2 separate regions of the Homo sapiens genome follow, and region 2 is linked to region 1. The links are contacts of gene promoters, found by promoter capture Hi-C in human tissues and cell types (Jung and others, 2019). All regions are on one chromosome and are shown on one strand. Each heading gives the region's core, a stretch centred on a gene start or on the middle of the fragment in contact. The rest is flanking DNA. Distances are from core to core; before and after follow the strand shown. Region 1 holds the start of DPRX (divergent-paired related homeobox). Region 2 overlaps ZNF813 (zinc finger protein 813).

Evidence for each region. The method cuts DNA at HindIII sites, captures the fragments that hold promoters and counts their contacts. A contact is called where the count stands out against the background at its distance.
Region 2: a contact is called between a fragment that was not itself captured here and the fragment with the promoter of DPRX in region 1, in 2 of the 25 tissues and cell types used here (adrenal gland and mesenchymal stem cells).

Annotation. Positions count from the first base shown.
Region 1 is chr19:53,630,024-53,637,234 of GRCh38, forward strand. DPRX (divergent-paired related homeobox) reads left to right here and starts at 1,976. Exons shown (of 3, transcript NM_001012728.2): 1 at 1,976-2,111; 2 at 4,508-4,662; 3 at 6,573-6,991. The coding sequence starts at 2,084. The coding sequence ends at 6,965. It also overlaps the pseudogene RN7SL317P. RefSeq lists an enhancer at 6,951-7,211. The HindIII fragment of the contact is 20,441 bases long and covers 1-5,894 here.
Region 2 is chr19:53,489,312-53,496,861 of GRCh38, forward strand. It overlaps ZNF813 (zinc finger protein 813), which reads left to right. Exons shown (of 4, transcript NM_001004301.4): 4 at 1,064-6,944. The coding sequence ends at 2,775. It also overlaps the pseudogene RPL39P37. Among named protein-coding and RNA genes, the nearest start is that of ZNF813, 25 kb to the left of the region's middle. RefSeq lists an enhancer at 2,772-3,971. The HindIII fragment of the contact is 8,734 bases long and covers 500-7,550 here.

The DNA of each region.
Region 1 (7,211 bases), core at 726-3,225:
TGGTGAAACCCTGTCTCTACTAAAAATACAAAAAAAAAAATTAGCTGGGCATGGTGGCATGTGCCTATAATCCCAGCTATTTGGGAGGCTGAGGCAGGAGAGTTGCTTGAACCCAGGAGGCAGAGGTTGCAGTGAGCCGGGATCACGCCACTGCACTCTAACCTGGGCGACAGAGTGAGACTCCATCTCAAAAAAAAAAAAAAAAACTTTCATGCTGATCAGTAGTGGAATCAGCTTGTGAATTGCCCTCCAGCCTGAGCAACACAGACTGCCTCTTACTAATCCCAGCACTTTGGGAGGCTGAGGTGGGAGGATGGCTTGTGCCTAAGACTTTGAGACTAGCCTAGCCAAAATCCCTTCTCTACAAAAAATGCAAAAATTAGCTGGGTATGGTAGTGTGCACCTGTAGTCCCAGTTACTCAGGAGGCTTAGGTGAGAGGCTCACCTAGGCCCAGGAGGTTAAGGCTGCATTGAGCTATGATTTTGCCACTGCACTCCAGGCTGGGCCTAGGCCTTTGTAGTCACAGCTACTTGGGGGCAAATGTAGGAGGATCACTTGAGCCCAGTAGGTCGAGGCTGCAGTCAGCTGTGTTTTTTGAGACATAGCAAGACCCTGTCTCAAAAAGAAAAAAAAAAGTAGCTACAAGCTCATTTATGCAAAGGCTAACCACTGTCACAAGTAGAGATGTGCAGAACTGAGATTCAAATGGATGGAATGGCAAGAAAAACTGCCACTTCTGTGAACCTGAAGTCAAACTGCCCTTGTCGTCAAGATAAAAGGTATACATGGTGTGAGCCTGGGCATCTGAAAGGTGTTGCAGCTTTTTCTTTTATTTTTTTGAGATGGAGTCTCACTCCTGTCACCCAGGCTGGAGTGCAGTGGTGCGATCTCAGCTCACTGCAACCTCTGCCTCCTGGGTTCAAGCAATTCTCCTGCCTCAGCCTCCTGAGTAGCTGGGATTACAGGTGCCCACCACCACACCCAGCTAATTTTCGTATTTTTAGTAGAGATGGGGTTTCGCCATGTTGGCCAGGCTGGTCTCGAACTCCTGACCTCAGGTGATCCGCCTGCCTCAGCCTCCCAAAGTGCTGGGATTACAGGTGTGAGCCACCTGTAATTAGCCAGGCTTGGTGGTGGGTGCCTGTAATCCCAGCTACTGGGAAGGCTGAGGCAGGAGAATTGCTTGAACCTGAGAGGCGGAGGTTGCTGTGAGCCGAGATCGTGCCACTGCACTCCAGCCTGGGTGACAGAGTGAGACTCCATCTCTAAATAAATAAATAAATAAATAAAATGAGATGATTTCTGAGTGAGTTAACTAAATCAGGATATGCAGAACAATGCCAAGCATATATTAGCCACTAAAGAATATATAAGTTGCCTGAAAGCCCCTTTAGGGTTTAAACCTGGACTTCATTATTCACAATCACATTCCCGGTCCCCATTACGGAGCCTGGTCACCTGGGTGCTTGTTAGATATGGAAATCATCAGATCCCACCCCAGACCGAGTCAGAAACGTTGAGGGCAGGAGTTCAAGACCAGCCTGGCCAACATGGCGGAAACTCCGTCTCTACTAAAAATACAAAAATTAGTCAGGAGTGGTGGCACAGGCCTGTGATCTCAGCTACTCGGGAGGCTGAGACATGAGAATCCCTTGAACCTGGGAGGCAGAGGCTGCAGTGAGCCAAGATGGTGTCATTGCGCTCCAGCCTGGGTGACAGAGTGGGACTCTGTCTCAAAGAAAAAGAAAAAAAGAAAAGAAATTGCAGCTTCTGCTCAGGAAGTCTGGAGTGGGCCAGGATTCTGCATTTTAACAACTCCCAGGAGTGTTAGTGGGGCTGGTTTGTGGACTCGCCTTTGAGTCGTTGGTCTCCGCTCAATCAATATTAGATAAAATGACAGTATTGGGAGAAATCCAGGGGGCTCTGGAGGACCGAGGGATCATATTGGAGGCAGATAGGGCAGAGAAAGGTGGAGGAGGTGGGAGTCGGGTGTGGCTGTGGAGGAAGCTACTTAAATCCGGATTTGATCTTTGCTAGTTCTTATCCCTGGACCTGAACCCAGGCGCACATCTGGATTAGAAGATGCCAGGCTCAGAGGATCTTCGTAAAGGTAAGCCAGAAAAAATGAGAACCGAAGCAAAGACACGTGAAGAAGTGGAAAGCAGCTGGCGGCGGGAAAAGGCAGAGGGACCAGGCGGCCGAAGCTGGTGCTTCGTCCACGTGGGTGGCAGGGACTTCCCACAGAGGCTGTCATCGTTTTTGTTGTTGTTGTTTTGTTTTGTTTTGTTTGTCTTTTGAGACAGTCTCACTCTGTCGCTCAGGCTGGAGTGCAGTGGCACGATTTCGGCTCACTGCAACCTCCACCTCCCAGGTTCAAGCAATTCTCCTGCCTCAGCCTCCCGAGTAGCTGGGATGACAGGCACACGCCACCACACCTGGCTAATTTTTTTTTTTTTTGTATTTTTAGTAGAGCCGGGGGTTTCACCATATTGACCAGGCTGGTCTCGAACTCCTGACCTTGTGATCCGTCTGGCTCAGCCTCCCAAAGTGCTGGGGTGACAGGCGTGAGCCACTGCACCCGGCCCAAGTTTTGTATCTTTATAGAGATGGGGTTTCACCATGTTAGCTAGGTTGGTCTCAAGCCCCTGACCTCATGTGATTGGCTGGCCTCGGCCTCCCAAAGTGCTGGGATTACAGGCATGAGCCTCGGTGCCCGGCCGCGGCTGTCATCTGACAGCACAGGCAAATGCAGGGAAGCCTGTTTCTGCCTTCAAATCCGAAATCTTCTCCCTCGTAGTTGTGTCCTAATTCTTCCCACCCCGATGCTTGTTCTTGAGCACAGGGGAATCTGATTCCTATGAGGATGATTAGGTCCTAGATAGAATATAGGCTTAGCCAAGCTGGAAATCTCATGTTCATGAGCACTTACTAGACTCTGGAGCTGCTGCCAAACCATTTTCAGGCATGATGCGATTCAGATCTTTTAGAGCGAGGCATGCGGTGGCTCATGCCTGTAATCCCAGCACTTTGGGAGGCCGAGGTGGGCAGATCGCTTCAGCCCAGGAGTTCAAGACCAGCCTGGGCAACAAAACAAGACGTTGTCTCTACAAAAAATACAAAAATTAGCCGGGCATGTCAGTGTTGTGTAGTTCCAGCTACTCGGGAGGCTGAGGTGAGAGGATCGCTTGAGCCTGGGGAGGTTGAGGCTGAAGTGAGCTGTGATCATGCCACTGGGCAACACAGCAGTACACTGTCTCAAGAAAAAGAAAGTAAAAGGTGACATCCGTGACAGCAGTGATGTTATTTTTCTGCTTATTTCCTTGCTATATTCCTAAAAGAATATACTTAATGAACATTGAATAAATGATAAGAATAAAACCATGTCCATCCATTTCACCTTGGATTGAGTTGCCTATTTCTACACAAAGAAAATAGAACCCAAGAGGTAAGGCACAAGCGATCCCTTATTTACGTATTTATTTATTTATTTATTTATTATTTTCTTGAGACAGGGTCTCCCTCTGTCTCAGGCTGGAGTGCAGTGGCATAATCTCGGCTCACCACAGCCTCTGCCTCTGAGGTTCAAGCGATTCTCCTGCCTCAGCCTCCCGAGTAGCTGGGACTACAGGCGTGCACCATCACGCCCAGCTAATTTTTGTACTTTTAGTAGAGACAGGGTTTCACCATGTTAGCCAGAATGGTCTTGATCTCTTGACCTCATGATCCGCCCGCCTTGGCCTCCCAAAGTGCTGGGATTACAGGCATGAGCCACTGTGCCCGGCCAAATTTTTGTGTTTTTAATAGAGATGGGGTTTCACCATGCTGGCCAGGCTGGTCTCAAACTCATGACCTGATATGATCTGCCCGCCCTGGCCTCCCAAAGTGCTGGGATTACAGGCGTGAGCAAGGGATCCCATATTTAAATGATAACAGAAAAAAAGGATGGAGGAACCAAGGGGGAAAGGAACAACCTTTTCCTATGAAAATGACAAATGAGGCTTGGAAAAACAAGGACAAAAGGCAGATCAAGTTGTCCTCCCGCTTCAGCCTCCCACAGTACTGGGACTGCAGCCTGAGGCACGACCCCGGCCAGCAGTGTCTCCATATCTAAGAACCTCAGTCACGGCCGGGCACAGTGGCTCACGCATGTAATCCCAACACTTTGGGAGGCCGAGGCGGGTGGATCACCTGAGGTCAGGAGTTCGAGACCAGCCTAGCCAACATGGTGAAACCCTGTCTCTGCTAGAAATACAAAAATTATCCGGGCATGGTGGCGTGCGCCTGTAATCCCAGCTACTCGGGAGGCTGAGGCAGGAGAATCGCTTGAACTCAGGAGGTGGAGGTTGCAGTGAGCTGAGATTGTGCCACTGCACTCCAGCCTCGGTGACAGAACCTCAGTCACTTGATCATCACGTTGTACCTCAGTGGAAAGGAAAGGAAAGCTCAGGCTTTTGAGAATGGAGTTGTTAGCATTTCCCATTTGTGTCTTTTTCCTCCTCTTTCAAGGCAAGGACCAGATGCATTCACACAGGAAACGAACCATGTTCACTAAGAAGCAACTGGAAGATCTGAACATCTTGTTCAATGAGAACCCATACCCAAACCCCAGCCTTCAGAAAGAAATGGCCTCGAAAATAGACATACACCCAACAGTACTGCAGGTTGGAAAATGATCCCTCTTCTCACTAAACTGCCTTCCTGATCTAATCTAAATTCAGAGTCCCTCTAGGATAATTCCTGAGGTCTCATTCCAATCGCCAATATTCCCCAAACCCACACTCTCCTACTCACGTCCCCGTAAACCTTTCTTCAACCCCCTAGAGCAAGAATGGGAAAATTTTTCCAGTAAAGGACCAGGTAGTAAATAATTGAAGCTTTGTGGGCCATACCGTCTCTCTAGCAACTATTTTAACTATGCCACCACAGTGCGAAGGCAGCCACAGACAACGTAAACAAGAGGCCCATCTGTGTTCCCAGAAACTCTTTTACTCAGGTTGGAGCACGGTGGTGCAATCACAGCTCACTGCAGCCTCGACCTCCCGGGCTCAAGCAATCCTACCACCTCAGCACCCCAAGTAGCTGGGACTACAGGTCTACAGGTGCACACTACGCCTCCCAAAGTGTTGGGATTACAAGCATGAGCCCGGCTGTATTTTATTTTTTGTAGAGATGGGGTTTCGCTATATTGCCCAGGAGGCTGATCTTGAACTCCTGGTCTCAAGTGATTCACCTGCCTTGGCCTCCCAAAGTGTCAGGATTATAGGCATAAGCCACTGCGCCTGGCCTGAAGTTTATACAATTTTCACATTACAAAATAGTGTTGTTTTGTTTTGTTTTAAGACAGGGTGTTGCTCTTGCCCACATTGGAGTGCAGTGGCACGATCATAGCTCACTGCAGCTTTGAATTCCTGGGCTGAAGCCATCCTCCCACTCAGATTCCCAAGTAGGTGGGACTACAGGTGTGTGGTACTACAGCCTCCCGAGCAGCTGATACTACTGGTGTGTACCACCAGGCCCAGCCAATTTGTGTGTTTTTTGTAGAGATGGGGTTTCGTCATGTTGCCCAGGCTGGACTCAAACTCCTGAAATCAAGTGATCCACCCACCTCAGCCTCCCAGAGTCCTGGGATTATAGGCATGAGCCACTGTGCCTGGCCAGTAGTATTCTTTTATTTTCTCTCTTTTTTCTTTCAGTCCCAACACACATACAACACAAAATAGTACTCTTATTGTGTTTGTTTTTTCTCAACCATTTTAAAACGTAAAGCCTATTCTTAGTGCATGGGTGATACAAAGACAGGGGGTGGTCAGATTTGGCCACCAGCCTTAGCTGGCTGGCCTGAGCCCCAGAGCAGCCCCTGCGACTGATCCCCTTGCTCTCCTATCCCCTGCTCTGGGTTTTCTGACCCCTGTCTCAATTTCTGTCCCCAAAATCTCTCATTTCTGCTCCTTCCTGGGAGTAGATTGAGTAGGGTTCCACAAAGAGGATGTAAGTGGCCAAGCTGTGGCACTAGCTGTTCTCACCTAGAAGTACTCATATTATCAACTAAAAGGAAAACTTGGGTTGGGTATGGTGGCTCATGCCTGTAATCCCAGCAGTTTGGGAGGCCGAGGTGGGCGGATCATGAGGTCAGGAGTTCGAGACCAGCCTGGCCAATATGGTGAAACCCTGTCTGTACTAAAAATACAAAAATTAGCCAGGCATAGTGGTGTGAGCCTGTAGTCCCCGCTACTCAGGAGGCTGAGGCAGAAGCATCGCTTGAACCTGGGAGGCGGAGGTTGCAGTGAGCCGAGATGGTGCCACTGAACTCCAGCCTGGGCGACAAGGTGAGACTCCATCTCAAAAATAAAATAAAATAAAATAAAAATAAATAAATAAATAAATATTAGGAGAGTTTAAGGGCCAAAAAAAGGAAAAAAAAAGAAAAGTTAAAAACTTAAAGGTTAAAAAAAAGAATATAAATAAATAAAATACGTTTAACAAAATAAAAATTAAAAAGTAAAAATTTTTTAAAAATAGAATGACAAGTCATCTGAATTCCACCCCATTCTCTTCTCTCTCTTCCCTTCAGGTCTGGTTCAAGAATCACAGAGCAAAACTCAAGAAAGCGAAATGCAAGCATATTCATCAAAAACAAGAAACTCCACAACCGCCAATACCAGAGGGTGGGGTCTCCACCAGTGTCGGCCTGAGAAATGCAGACACACTACCCAGATTGCCCAACGCTGCTCACCCGATCGGCCTGGTGTACACGGGTCATCGAGTCCCCTCATTCCAGCTCATCCTGTACCCCAACCTCAAGGTCCCTGCAAATGACTTCATTGGCCACAGAATAGTCCATTTTGGCTGCTGCCGAGATCCTAATATATACTGCCTCTACCCCATTTTGGAATCCCAAGTTTGCGCTCCAAGCTTCCATTCTGGCTCTCCTGCCTGTTCATCTAACCAAAGTCGAGAGAGATGATAAATACAAAAAGTCACATGTTGTAATGATGTGTGTGTGGTACTGTGACATTTGCGTTTGGTCTTCGTGCCTGTTTCCTGGAAAGCAGCTCCAGAGTTCCATGGAGTCTCCAAAGTGCCATCTTTTTGTATTTTGTGTGCTAATGTTGACCGATAGCTTCAGGATGGGGACTGGTCTCTGGAAAGACCCCAGTAGGATTAGAGGGCAAACTTCTGGGAGGGGAAGGAAGCTGAGGGTGAGGCTGAT
Region 2 (7,550 bases), core at 3,617-6,116, 140 kb before region 1:
GTCACATTAACTGGGGCACTGTGGCTCGTGCCTGTAGTCCCAGGACTTTGGGAAGCTGAGGCGGGTGGATCATTGAGGTCAAAAGTTCGACCACAGCCTGGCCAACATGGTGAAACCCTCTATCTACTAAAAATACAAAAATTAGCCAAGCATGCTGGCATGTGCCTATTATCCCAGGTACTCAGGAGGCTGAGGCAAGAGAATGGCTTGAACCCAAAAGGTGGAGGTTGCAGTGAGCCAAGATTGGGCCATAGCACTCCAGCCTGTTGTGACAAAGTGAAACTTCATCTCGAAAATAAAAAAATACAAAAATTTTTAAAAGAACGTCATAACGTGCCTTTTCTGCATAGGTATAGGTAATTTTATGACAGTAATTCAGAAAAATATTGTATTAACTTTTATTTTGAGATTAAGTCTCACTTTGTTACCCAGGCTGAAGTACAGTGTTGCAATCTCAGCTCACTGCAACCTCTGCCTCTTGGGTTCAAGCGATTCTTGTGCCTCAGCCTCCTGAGTAGCTGGGACTACAGACGTAGGCCACCACGCCTGGCTACATTTTGTAATCGTTTCTTACCTTTTCAGTGCTATGATTGTTTGACAATACAGAATTTCCATTGATTTTGGTTATCCTTACATGAGCTTGTTGTGGATTATTTACCAATATGGTATATCATGTGGTCCTTTAGCATTTATTTGTATACAGCAAATATGCTGTAAATATGAAGAATATATACTTTTCATTGGTGTGACGGTGATATGTTTTTTGCAAACTGTTAGACACTTTACGGTCACAGTGGAAAAATACTCCTTACTTTAGGCTTATACACATTTGTGCACTGTCAGTGTTTTGTCGTGATATTGGAAATAGGGTTCCGTAGAGATGATTTGAAGCACATGTAATAGCCCTTTATCTAATAAAGAATCTTACGCTTTTGTGTTCCTAAACTTTGAAGATCATGTTGGGGAAGTTTAAAATGAGTATTTTTTGTGTCACATTTACACATTTCAGTATTATTTACCATCTGTACTGAACTGGAAACCTATTCGTGTTTATATTTTGTAGATATCTCTTCCAAATGCATGATGAAGGAGTTCTCATCAACAGCACAAGGCAATAGAGAAGTGATCCACACAGGGACATTGCAAAGACATGAAAGTCATCACACTGGAGACTTTCGCTTTCAGGAAATTGATAAAGATATTCATAACTTAGAGTTTCAGTGGCAAGAAGATGAAAGAAATAGCCATGAAGCACCCATGACAGAAATCAAAAAGTTGACTGGTAGTGCAGACCGATATGATCAAAGGCATGCTGGAAACAAGCCTATTAAAGATCAGCTTGGATCAAGCTTTCATTCGCATCTGCCTGAACTCCACATGTTTCAGACCCAAGGGAAAATTGGTAATCAAGTGGAGAAGTCTATCAACGATGCTTCCTCAATTTCAACATCCCAAAGAATTTCTTGTAGGCCCAAAACCCATATTTCTAATAACTATGGGAATAATTTCCGGAATTCTTCGTTACTCACACAAAAACAGGAGGTACACATGAGAGAAAAGTCTTTCCAATGTAATGAGAGTGGCAAAGCCTTTAATTATAGCTCACTCTTAAGGAAACATCAAATAATCCATTTAGGAGAGAAACAATATAAATGTGATGTATGTGGCAAGGTCTTTAATCGGAAGCGAAACCTAGTGTGCCATCGTAGATGTCACACTGGGGAGAAACCTTACAGGTGTAATGAGTGTGGCAAGACTTTCAGTCAGACGTATTCCCTTACATGCCATCGTAGACTTCATACTGGAGAGAAACCTTACAAATGTGAAGAATGTGACAAAGCTTTCAGTTTCAAATCAAACCTTAAAAGACATAGGAGAATTCATGCTGGAGAAAAACCATACAAGTGTAATGAATGTGGCAAGACCTTTAGTCAGACGTCATCCCTTACATGCCATCGTAGACTTCATACTGGAGAGAAACCTTTCAAGTGTAATGAGTGTGGCAAGACCTTTAGTCGGAAGTCATCCCTTACATGCCATCATAGACTTCATACGGGAGAGAAACCTTATAAGTGTAATGAATGTGGCAAGACCTTCAGTCAGGAGTTAACCCTTAAATGCCATCGTAGACTTCATACCGGAGAGAAGCCTTACAAGTGTAATGAATGTGGCAAGGTTTTTAATAAAAAGGCAAACCTTGCACGTCATCATAGACTTCATAGTGGAGAGAAACCCTACAAGTGTACTGAGTGTGTCAAGACGTTCAGTCGAAATTCAGCCCTTGTAATTCATAAGGCTATTCATATTGGAGAGAAACGTTACAAGTGTAATGAGTGTGGCAAGACGTTCAGTCGAATTTCAGCCCTCGTAATTCATACGGCAATTCATACTGGAGAGAAACCTTACAAGTGTAATGAATGTGGCAAGGGTTTTAATCGGAAAACACACCTTGCATGTCATCATAGACTTCATACTGGAGAGAAACCTTACAAGTGTAATGAATGTGGCAAGGTTTTTAATCGAAAAACACACCTTGCACATCATCATAGACTTCATACTGGAGATAAACCTTACAAGTGTAATGAATGTGGCAAGGTTTTTAATCAAAAAGCACACCTTGCACGTCACCATAGACTTCATACTGGAGAGAAACCTTACAAGTGTAATGAATGTGGCAAGGTTTTTAATCAAAAAGCAAACCTTGCACGTCATCATAGACTTCATACTGGAGAGAAACCTTACAAGTTTAATGAGTGTGGCAAAGCTTTTAATTGAAAAGCAAAGCTTGCACATCATCATACAATTCATACTGGAAAGAAACAAGTGCAATGAGTGTGGCAAGACCTTCTGTCACAATTCAGTCCTTGTAATTCATAAGAATTCATACTGGAGAGAAACAAGTGTAATGAACGTTGCAAAATTTTTAATCAACAAGCACACCTTCCACGTCATCATAGACTTCATAGTGGAGAGAAACCTTAGAAATGTGAAGCATGTGACAAAGTTTACAGTGGCAAATCGAGCCTCAAAAGACAGGAGAATTCATACTGGAGAGAAAGCTTACAAAGGTGAAGAATATCACAGAGTTTTCAGTCACAAGTCAAACCTTGAAAGACATAAAATAAATCATACTGCAGAGAAACCATAAAATTGTAAGAGTTCGTGACAAGGCTTTCGGGCATGACTCACACCTGGCACAACATCCTAGAATTTATACTGGAGAGAAACCTTACAAGTGTAATGAGTCTGGCAAAGCCTTAATGAGCAGTCAACACTTACTCACCATCAGGCAATCCATGGTGAAGGAAACTTGACTAATGTAATGATTGTCACCAAGTCTTCAGTAACGCTACAACCATTGCAAATCATTGGAGAACCCATAAGGAAGAGAGATCATACAAGTGTAATAATCGGCAAATTTTTCAGACATCGTCCATACCTTGCAGTTCATTGGCGAACTCATACTGGAGACAAACCTTATAAATGTCATGATTGAGGCAAGGTCTTCAGTCAAGCTTCATCCTATGCAAAACATAGGAGAATTCATACAGGAGAGAAACCTCACGTGTGATGATTGTGGCAAAGCCTTTACTTCACGTTCACACCTCCTTAGACATCAGAGAATGCACACTGGACGGAAATCTTACAAATGTCATCAGTGTGGCAAGGTTTTCAGTCTGACTTCACTCCTTGCAGAATATCAGAAAATTCATTTTGAGATAATTGTTCCAAATGCAATGAGTAGAGCAAACCATCAAGCAGTAATTGACATTAAAGTGTTTATGTTAAGAGGATTGGGCCAGGTACAGTGTCTCACACCTGTAATCCCAGCACTTTGGGAGGCCAAGGCGGGTAGATCACTTGAGGTCAGGAGTTTCAGATCAGTCTGGCCAACAAACATGAGCCACTTTTCCCAGTTTGCTTTTTGTTCTTTAACAAAAACTGATAGGGATTTTTATGGGTACCGTGTTGAATCTAAATCACATTGGGTTATATAATCATTTAACAATATTAATTTTTCCAATCCATCAATATGGGTTATATGTCTGTATATGTTTTTAATCATATTGATGTATATTTGTAGATTTCAAGGTACAAACTTCTCACCTTTTTACTTTTATTTCTATTTCTTTAAGTTCTCTAGCAAATGGAAGTGTTTTTAAATTTTCTTTTAAAATTGTTTATTGTTACAAACTTCTCATCTTTTTGCTTTTATTCCTAAGTATTTCTTACTTTAAGTTCTCTAGCAAATGGAAGTGTTTTTAAATTTTCTTTTAAAATTGTTTATTGTTAATGTATGGAAATTCAGCTAATTTTTGGTGCTGATATTGTACTGTGCAGATACACTGAATCTGTTTATTACTTCCAGTAGTATTTTGGTTGAGTCTTTGTGATTTTCTACACAGAAGATCATGTCATCTACAAACACATATAATTTTACTTCTTTCTTTCTGATTTGGATGGGTTTGATTTCTTTTGCTATTTCATTGCTCTGGCTAGGACAGCCAGTATTTATTGAATAGAAGGGGTGAGAGCATTCTTCCATCATGTGAGATCCTACAGGAAAATCATTCCATGTTCCCTGCTTCGTTATCTACTCGTTGGTCATTTCATGGATGGCCTTTCTATTGTTGAGGTAAATTTCCTTTTCTGTCTATTTTGTTCAGAATTTCTATGATGAGTGGATTTTGAATTTTGTGAAATACTTTTTCTCCATCTATTGAGATGATGTGGTTTTCATCTTTCATTCTGTTCAAGTGGCATATCACATTGATTTGCTTGACTATGTTGAACCATCCTTGCATCCCAGAAATAAGTGGCACTTGAGTATCTACAGTCCTTTTTACATCCTCTTGAATACAGCTTTTTAGTACAAGGGGTCTTCAAGAAGTTCATGGAAAAATACATATTTTGCATATTATGAGAAAATTGTGTATGAATTTCCCAGTTTTTGCACCAAAATAAACTGGTACGAATCTGTTATGTCTGAACAGGTCCTAGTTTGAGGCACCCAGAAGGATAAGACATGAGTTTTAAAAGAGACTTTCTCTGCCGGGCGCAGTGGCTCATGCCTGTAATCCCAACACTTTGGGAGGCCAAGGTGGGTGGATCACCTGAGATCCAGAGTTCGAGACCAGCCTCACCAACATGGAGAAACAGCATCTCTACTAAAAATACAAAATTAGCCAGGCATGGTGGCAAATGCCTGTAATCCCAGATACTCTGGAGGCTGAGGCAGGAGAATGGCTTGAACCCGGGAGGCAGAGATTGCTGTGAGCCGAGATTGCACCATTGCACTCCAGCCTGGTCAACAAGAGCGAAACTCTGTCTCAAAAAAAAAAAAAAGAAAAGAAAAGAAAAGAGACTCTATCAAAGCAATATAAATCCTGCTAAAATTGAAACAAAAAGGAGCATCAAATTTACAGTGAGACCAGATGCAGTGGCTCAGGCCTGTAATCCCAGCACTTTCAGAGGCCAAGACAGGTGGGTCATGTAAGCCCAGGTATTCAAGACAAGCCTGGGCAACATGGTGAAACCCCCTTGTCTACAAAAAATACAAAAATTAGCTGGGCACGGTAGCACATGCATGCAGGGCCAGCTGCTGTGGAGTCTGTGGTAGGAGGATAGCTCGAGCCTGGGAGGTTGAGGCTGCAGTGAGCTATGATCATGCCACTGCATTCCAGCATGGGTGATGGAGCGAGATACTGGCTCAAAAAAAAAAATACTTCTTGTAAAGTTTGGGTAGAGGAATAATGAAATCATTGATGCTTTATGAAAAGATTATGGAGATGATGCCCAGAAGAAATAAACAGTTTGTAAATGGATAACTTAGTTTGAGTTGGGACAAGACAATGTTGAAGGTGATGCATGGAGTGGCAGGCACACCATCCACATCAGTTTTTTTGTTTGTTTTTGTTGTTGTTGTTTTTTTGAGATGGTGTCTCGCTCTGTCTCCCAGGCTGGAATGCAGTGGTGCAATCTCGGCTCACTGCAACCTCTGCCTCCCGGGTTCAAGTGATTCTCCTGTCTCTGCCTCCTTAGTAGCTGGGACTACAGGCGCGTGCCACCACATCAGCTAATTTTTGTATTTTTAGTAAGACGGGGTTTCACCATGTTGGCAAGGCTGGTCTTGAACTCCTGACCTCACGATCTGCCCACCTCAGCCTCCCAAAGTGTGGAGATTACAGGCATGAGCCACCATGCCCCTTGCACATCAGTTTTACAAAAAAATTTATCTTGTTTGTGCCACAATGAAGAGGACTGACAGGTAACAGCAGAAACAATAGTCAGGAGTTTGAGAACAGGCTGATTAACATGGTGAAACCCCGTCTCTACTAAAAATACAAAAATTAGCTGGGTGTGGTGGCGGGTGCTTGTAATCCCAGTTACTCAGGAGGCTGAGGCTGCATTATCGCTTTAACCTGGGGGGCGGAGGTTGCAGTGAGCCAAGATGGGGGCAATAAGAGCAAAACTTTGTCTCAAAAAAAAATAAATAAATAAAAAATAAAATATGTCAAGCCCCTTCTCTTCCTGTCTCCTCTCGTGGTGTGTACTTGACTCCCCTTCTCGCCAGATCTCACAGGACTTTCAGATTTAAGCAATACCTGGCCAAGAAACAAAAGCAAAATCATTCCATTCCCCCAGTGGATTCAGATCAAAACTGGTAATAAAATCAGGTACGACTCCAAAAGGAGACATTGGAGAAGAACGAAGCGGGGTCTATAAGGAATTGCACGTGAGATGGCACACATATTTATGCTGTGTGAGCATTACAATCGCGTTACCATATCAAGCTGAAAATGTCACCACTATCTGGAGTGTTGGAAATGTTTTATTGGGAATATGTTTTTTCTCTGAATCTGCTATGAACACGTCAGTTGGGTGGGTTCAGTAATAAATATGTGAGACTTTTCATTTCAAAATAAAAAAGGCAAATGATGTAATTGCATAGAGTACCTTAATTTCTGTTTTGCTTTTTTTTTTTTTTTTTTTTTTGAGATCAAGACTCCACTGGGTCAGCTGATCACACCTGTGGTCCTCGCACTTTGGGAGGCTGAGATGGGAGGATTGCTTGAGACCAGGAGTCTCCTGGGAATGTTCTCATCTCCCCTAACCCAATTCATGAGAGACCCTTGGACTTTACTGTTATGGAAAAATCTATATTAAGCAATATCAGTGTGTCAAAGCATTATGTCTGTCACAAGCTCGTGAAAGGAAAATAAAAATTACTAAGCCAAAGAGAAAAGTCAACCTGAGAACTGCATCAGACAAACCTGCCTCCCATTTTATTCCTAAATGAGATAGCCACAAAGACTAAAATAAAGCTACGTAGAGGCCATGCACGGTGGCTCATGCCTGTAATCCCAGCACTTTTGGAGGCCGAGGCGGGTGGATCACTTGAGGTTGGGACTTTGAGACTAGCCTGACGAACATGGAGATACCCTGTCTCTACTAAAAATACAAAAATTAGCGGGGTGCGGTGGTGCGCGCCTGTAATCCCAGCTACTTGAGAGGCTGAGGCAGGAGAATTGCTTGAACCCAGGAGGCAG